Regions from separate parts of the Homo sapiens genome. Here region 1 is linked to region 2. The links are contacts of gene promoters, found by promoter capture Hi-C in blood cells and fetal thymus (Javierre and others, 2016). All regions are on one chromosome and are shown on one strand. The core of a region is centred on a gene start or on the middle of the fragment in contact, and the rest is flanking DNA. Distances in the headings are between cores, read along the strand shown.

What was found. The method cuts DNA at HindIII sites, captures the fragments that hold promoters and counts their contacts. A CHiCAGO score of 5 or more calls a contact.
Region 1: a contact is called between a fragment that was not itself captured here and the fragment with the promoter of IGFBPL1 in region 2, in 2 of 17 cell types (total CD8 T cells and naive CD8 T cells). The highest score is 5.9, in total CD8 T cells.

Annotation. Positions count from the first base shown.
Region 1 is chr9:38,122,984-38,127,000 of GRCh38, forward strand. No RefSeq gene overlaps it. Among named protein-coding and RNA genes, the nearest start is that of SHB, 56 kb to the left of the region's middle. The HindIII fragment of the contact is 2,135 bases long and covers 1,128-3,262 here.
Region 2 is chr9:38,422,458-38,426,585 of GRCh38, forward strand. It overlaps IGFBPL1 (insulin like growth factor binding protein like 1), which reads right to left and starts at 1,997. Exons shown (of 5, transcript NM_001007563.3): 1 at 1,508-1,997. The coding sequence starts at 1,967. It overlaps LOC105376041 (a long non-coding RNA gene), which reads left to right and starts at 2,154. Exons shown (of 8, transcript XR_007061487.1): 1 at 2,154-2,293. RefSeq lists an enhancer at 3,042-4,128. The HindIII fragment of the contact is 4,043 bases long and covers 780-4,128 here.

The DNA of each region.
Region 1 (4,017 bases), core at 945-3,444, 300 kb before region 2:
GTGCTTCATTGCTTTTTATGGCCAAATAATATTGCATTGTATGGATATACCACATTTTGTGTATCCATTCATCAGTTGATATACATTTAGATTCTTTCAACTTCTTGGCTGTTATTAATAATGTTGCTGTGAACATTAGTGTAAAAGTTTTTATTTCAGCATGTGTTTTCACTTTTCTTGGGTATATACCTAGGAATAAAATGTCTGGGTCATGGCTAGGCATGGTGGCTCACACCTGTAATCTCAGCACTTTGGGAGGCCAAGGCAGGCGGATTATGTCAGGAGTTGGAGACCAGCTGGCCAACATGGTGAAACCCTGTCTCTACTGAAAATACAAAAATTAGCTGGGCGTGGTGGCAGGTGCCTGTAATCCCAGCTACTTGGGAGGCTGAGGCAGGAGAATCATTTGAACCCAGGAGGCAGAGGTTGCAGTGAGCCAAGATGGCGCCATTGCACTCCAGCCTGGGCAACAGGGCTAGATGCTGTCTTAAAAAAAAAAAAAAAAAAAAAAAATCTGGGTCATATGGTAACTCTGTAGTTAACTTTTTGGGGATCTGCCTATATAAGAGTTTCACTTTTTCTGTGTCCTCAGCAACACTTGTTATAGTTTTCTGGTTATAACCATCCTAGTGGGTGTGAAGTAATATATCATTGTGGTTTTGATTTGCTTTTTTTTTGCTTTTTTTTTTTTTTTTTTGAGACAAGGTCTTGCTCTGTCACTCAGGCTGGAGTGCAGTGGCACAATCATGGCTCACTGCAGCCTCAAACACCTGGGCTCCAGCAATCCTCCTGCCTCGGCCTCCCAAGTAACTGGGACTATAGGTGTGTGCCACCATGCCTGGCTAATTAAAAAATTTTTTTTGTAAAGACAGGGTTTCACTATGCTGCCCAGGCTGGTCTTGAACTCCTGAGCTCAAGAGATCCTCCTGCCTTGGCCTCCCAAAGTGCTGGGATTGCAGACATGAGCCACTGTACCCAGCCTGCAGTTTTCTAATGACTAATAACATTGAGTAATTTTTATGTGCTTATTGGCAATTTATATATCTTCTTTGGAGAAATGTCTATTTCTTCACATCCTTTGTCCACTTTGTAACTGGGGTATTTGTTTTTTATTGTTTAGTTTTTAAAGCTTCTTAAATATTATGAACCACTGTAGACCTGATTTGCAAAACATTTTTCCCCCATTTCATGGCTTTTTAACTTTCTTGATAGTGTCCTTTGAAGCACAAACATTTTTAAGTTTGCTGAAGTCCAGTTTGTCTGTTTTTCTTTCCAGGGTGTGTTTCCTGATACGTCCTCACAGGATTGATTTTTCTTTCTTTTTTTTCCTTTTTTCTTTTTTTTTTTTTTCGACATGGAGTCTTGCTCTGTCGCCCAGGCTGGAGTGCAGTGGTATGATCTGGGCTCACTGCAACCTTCACCTCCCGGGTTCAAGCAATTCTCGTGCCTCAGCCTCCCAAGTAGCTCCCATTAGGTGTGCATGGCTAATTTTTGTATTTTCAGTAGAGATGGGGTTTCACCATATTGGCCAGGCTGGTCTTGAACTCCTGACCTCAAGTGATCCACCTGCCTTGGCCCCCCAGAGTGCTGAGATTACAGGCGTGAGCCACTGCGCCTGGCCGGAATTGGTTGTTTTAACCTTGCCCCAACCAGACTGTCTTCTGCACTCTAACTGCCCCTTCTAAGTCTTCCAGGCAGCCTGGGCCCCTGAAACACTGGGATTCCTCATTACCCAAGGTTCTTCTGTGTTTCATGGTGATCACTACATCTTCACCACATAAGACACTTTGGATTGACTTCAAGACTCACCTTGACATTGGCTTGAACACTTTCTCCAACTTCGGCTCCTGTAACAAAGACTCTATTGATTCTCCCTCCACCTCTCTCTGCCCCTCTGTGACTCCACTCTGGACTCTTCATCTTGCTCAGGGTTTGCCGTACTCTCACTTTTCTCTCTCTCCTCTCTACTTTCCAGTGTTCACCTGGTTTGACTTCTTCAATGACCTCCTCTCTTTCGCTCCTTAGTGATGGAAGGCAACACAGTGAGACCGACCTGGGTTTGCAGCCTGGCTTGGAAATTTGCAAGCTGGGAACCTTGGACAAATTTATTTATAGCTCTGTTCCTTTGTTTCCTCATCTGTCCAGTAGGGGTAAGAATAATGTCTTCCAAAGGAGCTCTTGGGAGGCTAAAGGAGATATCATAAATACCCTGTGCCCATGATACGTGATAGAGTAAGGGCTCAAAGATATTCACCATCGGTGCCCCACTATCACTTCAAACTCAGCCTGTCCAAGCCAAGCTCATAATTTCACTCCAGGCTAGATCCTTCTGTCTTTTGCCCCCTTCATCCTGCTAGTGCCCTCACTTTGGGGTCACCTCCTACCAGGCCTTGTTCATTTACGATAATATCATCCCACGTGTGTCCCACATCGCCAGAGCTTGTCCATGCCCAGGCTCTTGCTTTCTTTCACCCTGGAGCCCCAGTCACCTGATCCTGCTAACTTTTGTTTCAAAATATCCCCTTCTCCCTCTTTTCTTTCCACCATCAGGGCCCCTGTCCTAGCTGTGTGCTCACTGGACTCTGAGTGGCGGAACAGCCCCTGATACCACCGTGGCCCACCTACCTCTGATCTCTGGCCTTTAGATTTGGCTCTCACAGGAGCTAGGAGTCCAGGCACCTTCCTGTGTTTTCTACAGCTCTGATTCTTTTTCCTGGCAAGTTGGGGCCACACACTAACCTGGCAAAATGTGGGAGAGGGAGCGAACTGTAGAATTTGGAGGTGGGAGCTCCTGATTGTAGACTAGGCTTGCCAGGGGATCCAGCAAGTCCTTTATGGTTTTTGGACCTTGATTTCCCCACCCGCACAGTGGAGATGAAGAATTTCTCAGTCTTGAAGGCCCCTGCCTCCTCTGATGTGTGGCGATTTATCACTTGTGGTCTCTTCCAATTACGAGGCTCATTCATGGGGCTTCTGAGAAGTCCCTTTTCGCTCTCTTCCTACCTTGACAGATTTGTCTTCTAAGGTGAGTTTCTCTTTTGCCGAGTCCTTCTCAGACCTCATTTCCTATCTCTGACTCACTCCGCTTGGCTTCTTCCCCTACCTTATAGCCTAGGGTGTGTGCGTTGATGTACAAATGTGTTCTGATAGTTGGCATAGCTTCTGCCTCTGTGTTCTCTTGGTCTTGCAGACAGTCTCTGCCTCCTGTCTCTCCTATTCCATCTCAGCCCCACACTGACAACAACCCATGGGATCTTTCTAAAGCTTAAATCTGAGCTTGTCACTCCCCTGCTGAAAAAACTTCGGTGGCTCTCTAAAGCCCCAGGATCAAGGTTATCTCCTTACCCTCCTTTTCAAACATCCCACACCCCTCTACAGTCTGGTCTCAACCTAACTGCTGTACTCATCTGCTCCTGAAGAGATGGGCCCCCGATTCCTTTGCTGATTCCATCCCTGTGCATGGAGTGTGCCCTCCTCTCACTTCTGTGTCCAGTGACATTCTGTGATGTCACCCACTGGGCCTCAGATCAGCTGTTACTTTCTTGGGAAGCTTCCCTTGATCTCTTCATTCAAATAAAAATGCTGTTACTTGTACATTCCTGCAGAATGTTATTCACTCTGCGGAGAAGGATCATTTTCTTTCTTCTTCATCTCATGATAAAGGTGGGGGCAGTGTCTGATGTGGCCAGGTGGTCAGCACATCGGTGCTGCTCAGTATACATTTGGTGACTAAGGGAATGGCTTCTTTATGGACTTCTGGCTTTTGTCTCCCTCCCCAGCTGGGCTACTTGAGAGGCCTCCTTTAATCTACCCACCATAGATAGATCCTCTTGAAGGGCAGCTGGGTTCATCTGCTGCCAAGCCCAACGTATGTTCCACATTTAAACAAAGGAACAGGAAGAAGCAAGGATTAGTGCAAGATGCTAGTCATTGAGCACACAGACACCTGCTGGCACAGGGACCTTTGGCAAAATCCCCAGCAAGTGCCCACAAAAGCCAGTGGTCGATGGTGCCCAC
Region 2 (4,128 bases), core at 747-3,246:
GGCTGAGGAAAGCAGTTATAAAAACGAGTGATAGGAACTAGCAAAAGGAAAGAGACAGGACTGTTTAAGTGCCACAGGGCGGAAACCAACTGTTCCGAGTGAAAGGGACCTCAACAATGACTCCACTGGGGCTGATATGGCCAGAGAGGGGAAGGGACCCGTCCAGGGCCACTCAGGGAGCCAGCGGCAGCACAGATGCACCCCCAGCCAGCTCTGTCCTCCATGGGGAGCTTCAGCTAGGAACAGCCAATGGTGACTTTCCTGTGCTCAACTGGCCACACACTGGTTTTACATTTCCCAGGACTGGAGGCTTCCTGCCCCATCTCCAACAACCCATTGCGTCTCCTGGACTTGGGTACATCTACCTGAACTACTTGAGAGGAAAGACTACTAGATACTTCTTAAGGCTTGGAAAGGTCTCACCCCACCCCAGGCTTCTTTCTTGAAGCTAAGTCATTACACTGACTTAGGCACTAAAGTCTGGACTTGGTCTCTGGGCTCAGGCCAGAATTATTTCCCAGAAGCCTGAACTCCAGGCCGAAACCCAGGCTCCTTGGGACTCACTGGCCACCTTCTCACTCACCCTAAACTCAGCACTGCCCACTCCAGGCAAAGTACACAGCGGCACTTCAAAACCTAGTGGGTGGAATACACTCATGCTTAGGAAGCCGGTAAAGCAGTGCTAACGTTTTGGTTTCTTTTTGTTTGGTTTTCAAAAGGTACATAAAGAGGGTGGGCAACTATAGCACTCAGAGATTATTTTACTGTGATGTTAATGAAGCTTAAGTTTCTAAGTCCCTAGCATTTCATAATAAGTTTCTAAGTCCCTAGCAGTTCTATTCCTTTACTTAAGGCAGGACTCTCCAAATTATATATGTTTTAGAAGCACGAAACCTGAGTCTGCCCCTAATAGCACCACAATCTTTTCAGACCTTACGTCTCCAAAGGTCTTACTTCTCCTGGATGGAGCTCCCTCAGCATCCCAGCTCAGCCCCTTCCCACACCGGGGGCCCTGGTGCTCTGGTGCTGTGGCCTGGTGACTACTGATTCCCCAGTCTGGAACTCATCCTCCTCCTGCATCCTCAACTTCCCTTCCTCCCCTATCCTCTACTTCCCTTCCTCCCCCAACCTCAACTTCCCTTCCTCCCCATTCAAACAATCCACCTAGCGCTGGATACCTGGGAACTCGGATCCCCCTCCTTAACTCCCAGTCTCCTGCTGGGCAAACATACCATGCCTACAAATAAGTGACTGCATCAGCAGGTACTTAAGTACCAAAAGGGGTAGCAGGCTCACCAAAAATTCGACTAGCACAGTGAGTGGCGTCTCCAAGGATTCTCGCCCCAGTCTCTCTGAGCACGAGGAGAGATATGAAATACTGCTCCCTAAGGGGAAACTGAGTGCCAGGCAGCGCCGTCCACCACTGGGCAGGGGGATCCTTCGCTCCACACCCCAGAGGGTTGGAATCCCTCCTTCTCTACCCACCCAATCCCCGACCCTGACTCACCGAACTCGCAAGGGCCGTCGCGCGCCTTGTGCAGGTGACCGGGGTGCGCGCGGGGCGTGTGCCGAGCGCGCAGGCGCAGCGCGCAGACGCTGGGGTACGAGCGACCGTCGGAGCCGCAGACGGTGCCGCGCTGCGCGCACACGCAGAGCCCGGTGCCCTCGGGCGCTGCCCCAGCGGCCTGGCTCGCGCATACCAGGCCGGGGCCACAGCGCCCGCCGGCGCGGCCCCCGCAGCTCGCGCCCTCGGCTCCCAGGCAGCGGGCGCAGCAGCCGCACTCGTCGAGCGCCGAGATCCCGGGCGCCGGGCAGGGCGCAGGCGCCGGGCAGCCCTCTGGCCGGCACGGACCACACTTGGGGCGCCGGCCGCCCACGTCGCGGATCCCAAGGCTCGGGGACAGCGGCGGCAGCAGCGGCAGCAGCAGCAGAAGCAGCAGCGGCAAGAGCAGAGACAAGCGCGGCATGGCTTGCTCCGGGACAGCGGCGGCGCCTCTGCTTCGCGCTCCGCTCCGCGCCCGCCGAGCAGTCACCGCTCCCGCCCCGCGGCCGCTGATTGGCCGGGCCTGCACCGCGGGGCGCCCGCAGACCGCTGCTCCAGCCCGGGACCCGCGCGGTGCCCGCGGCCCGGGTCTCCGAGCTGGAGGGTCGCCCCGAGAGCAGCTCTCCGACCTCCGATTGGACTCTTGAGGGAACCGAGACCCAGTCGGGGCGACAACTTGCCCGAGGTCGCTATGGCAGAGTCAGGATTGGATAACCGTACGGTCTCCGGATCCAAGGCTGGCTCCAGATAGTATGCCCGTAAATCCTCCCAGAAGGATGCGCTATTTTATTTAATTTTATTTTGCATTCAGTAGTTTTCAAAGTTTTATTTTATAAAGAGAATATATGGTTTAAAATGTAGATTTTACATATACATCTAAGGATGAAAAGAGGGTTACCCTACCACCTTGTATCCCCATCCTCCAACTCGGCTTCCAGAGGCCACTCTTGCTATCGGGTTTTTGTATATCTTTTCAGAAATTTTCTCTATGCCTATAAAAGTACATGTGCCTAAAAAAGCCCCTTCCTTTAAAACACACACACTCTGTTTCTCTCTCACACACACAGAGTAGCGTGCCATACACATTAGTCTGCACTTGGTTTTTGCACTTACAGTGTTTCACAGTTTCCCCACCTCTTGTCATCTGTGAAACTGGGTTTCTTATACAATCAATGGGAGCATAGTTCATTGGCTCTGTGAGTGTGTTTCTTAATGCTGCATAAAGTCATGGTACATCTCCGTCCACAGTGACTTTGTTGTGATGAGATATGGTGATATATTTTGGAGTTCATACAGAGTGGCCTTTCCACAGGGTTTAGTTGCAGTTATTTAACCACTTATTTTCCATCCTTTGGTTAATACGAATAATGCTTTGATGAAGTCTTGGTGCACAAGGGTCAGTGTACCTGTGGCTTACTGGGGAATGCATGTTGGAAAGATGCAGTTTCTTGTAGTCAGTTATTCATGCCGCCGTTGCGCCTTCTCTGGGCCAGGCTCTGTGCACACCATCCTGCCTGAGTTCTGGCAGGGCACCCAGACGAGAAACCTAAGAGAGTCTTGGCTGCTGGGATTTGATGTGTTGCTGGGTAAATGCACTGGATGGAGGGAGGGACTCGCTGAGCAGGTTTTATAGGAGACTTTTCCTGCCTTTACTGGCCACCCCTCATGTGTCTTGTGCTCTATTGTTTTTTCTTTGCTGAACTCCTGGAGATGGAGAAAGCCTCTTGCAGCCTGGGAAGACCAGCTACACCGTTCTTGGGTGGGGTTCATTTTGCTTTTCAAGCCCAGTTCCTTCCCAGTTTGCAGTCTTCTTATCCCCAGAAAGGAGCCTCTTCTGAGGCCACTTTATGTGGTGGTCAGAGGAGGGCCATCTGCCTGGTCCACGCCAGGCCTTACCTTACAATCAGCCACACAGAGCAGGGGCGGTTAGGCACCATGAAGGGGTGGTGGTAAGGAATAAATATAACAATGTTGGTAATGCACTCAGCGCAGCTCTCAGAACCTATCAACAGTGACTTTCAACCTGGAGGCTGCTGTCTTTACCAGGAGTGGCCTTTTAAAGTGCTCTCACCGCTTGACCCCTCTGTGCTCTTCCAGGAATCTCTCCTAAAAAAATGATCACTATGTGTGAAGATTTCATCCTGGAGTTGGTTACTATAGCAAAAAATAAATAAATAAATAAAATAAAAATAAAAAAAGTTAACGACCTAAATGCCCACCGAGAGGCAATCGTTAAATAAATTATGGTACATCTAACAATAGAGGATTATGCAGGCATTAACAATTAGAAAGAAAATATGGGTTAATAGAAATGAAAACATGTTTATAATACATTGTTTAGTAAAATAGCGGTTAAAAAGTGCACATCTAATGTAATGGCATATTTGTAAATATGTGAATGTGTAAACATGCAAAAATTTAAGATTGTTTTTAATGATGTGAAGGAAACCCTTTTTTTAAAAAAAAAAAAAAAAAGAGATGGTACCTCATTCTGCTGCCCAGGTTGGAGTGCAATGTCATGATCATAGCTCACTGCAGCCTCAAACTCCTGAGCCTCAAGCCGTCCTCCCCCACTCAGCCTCCTG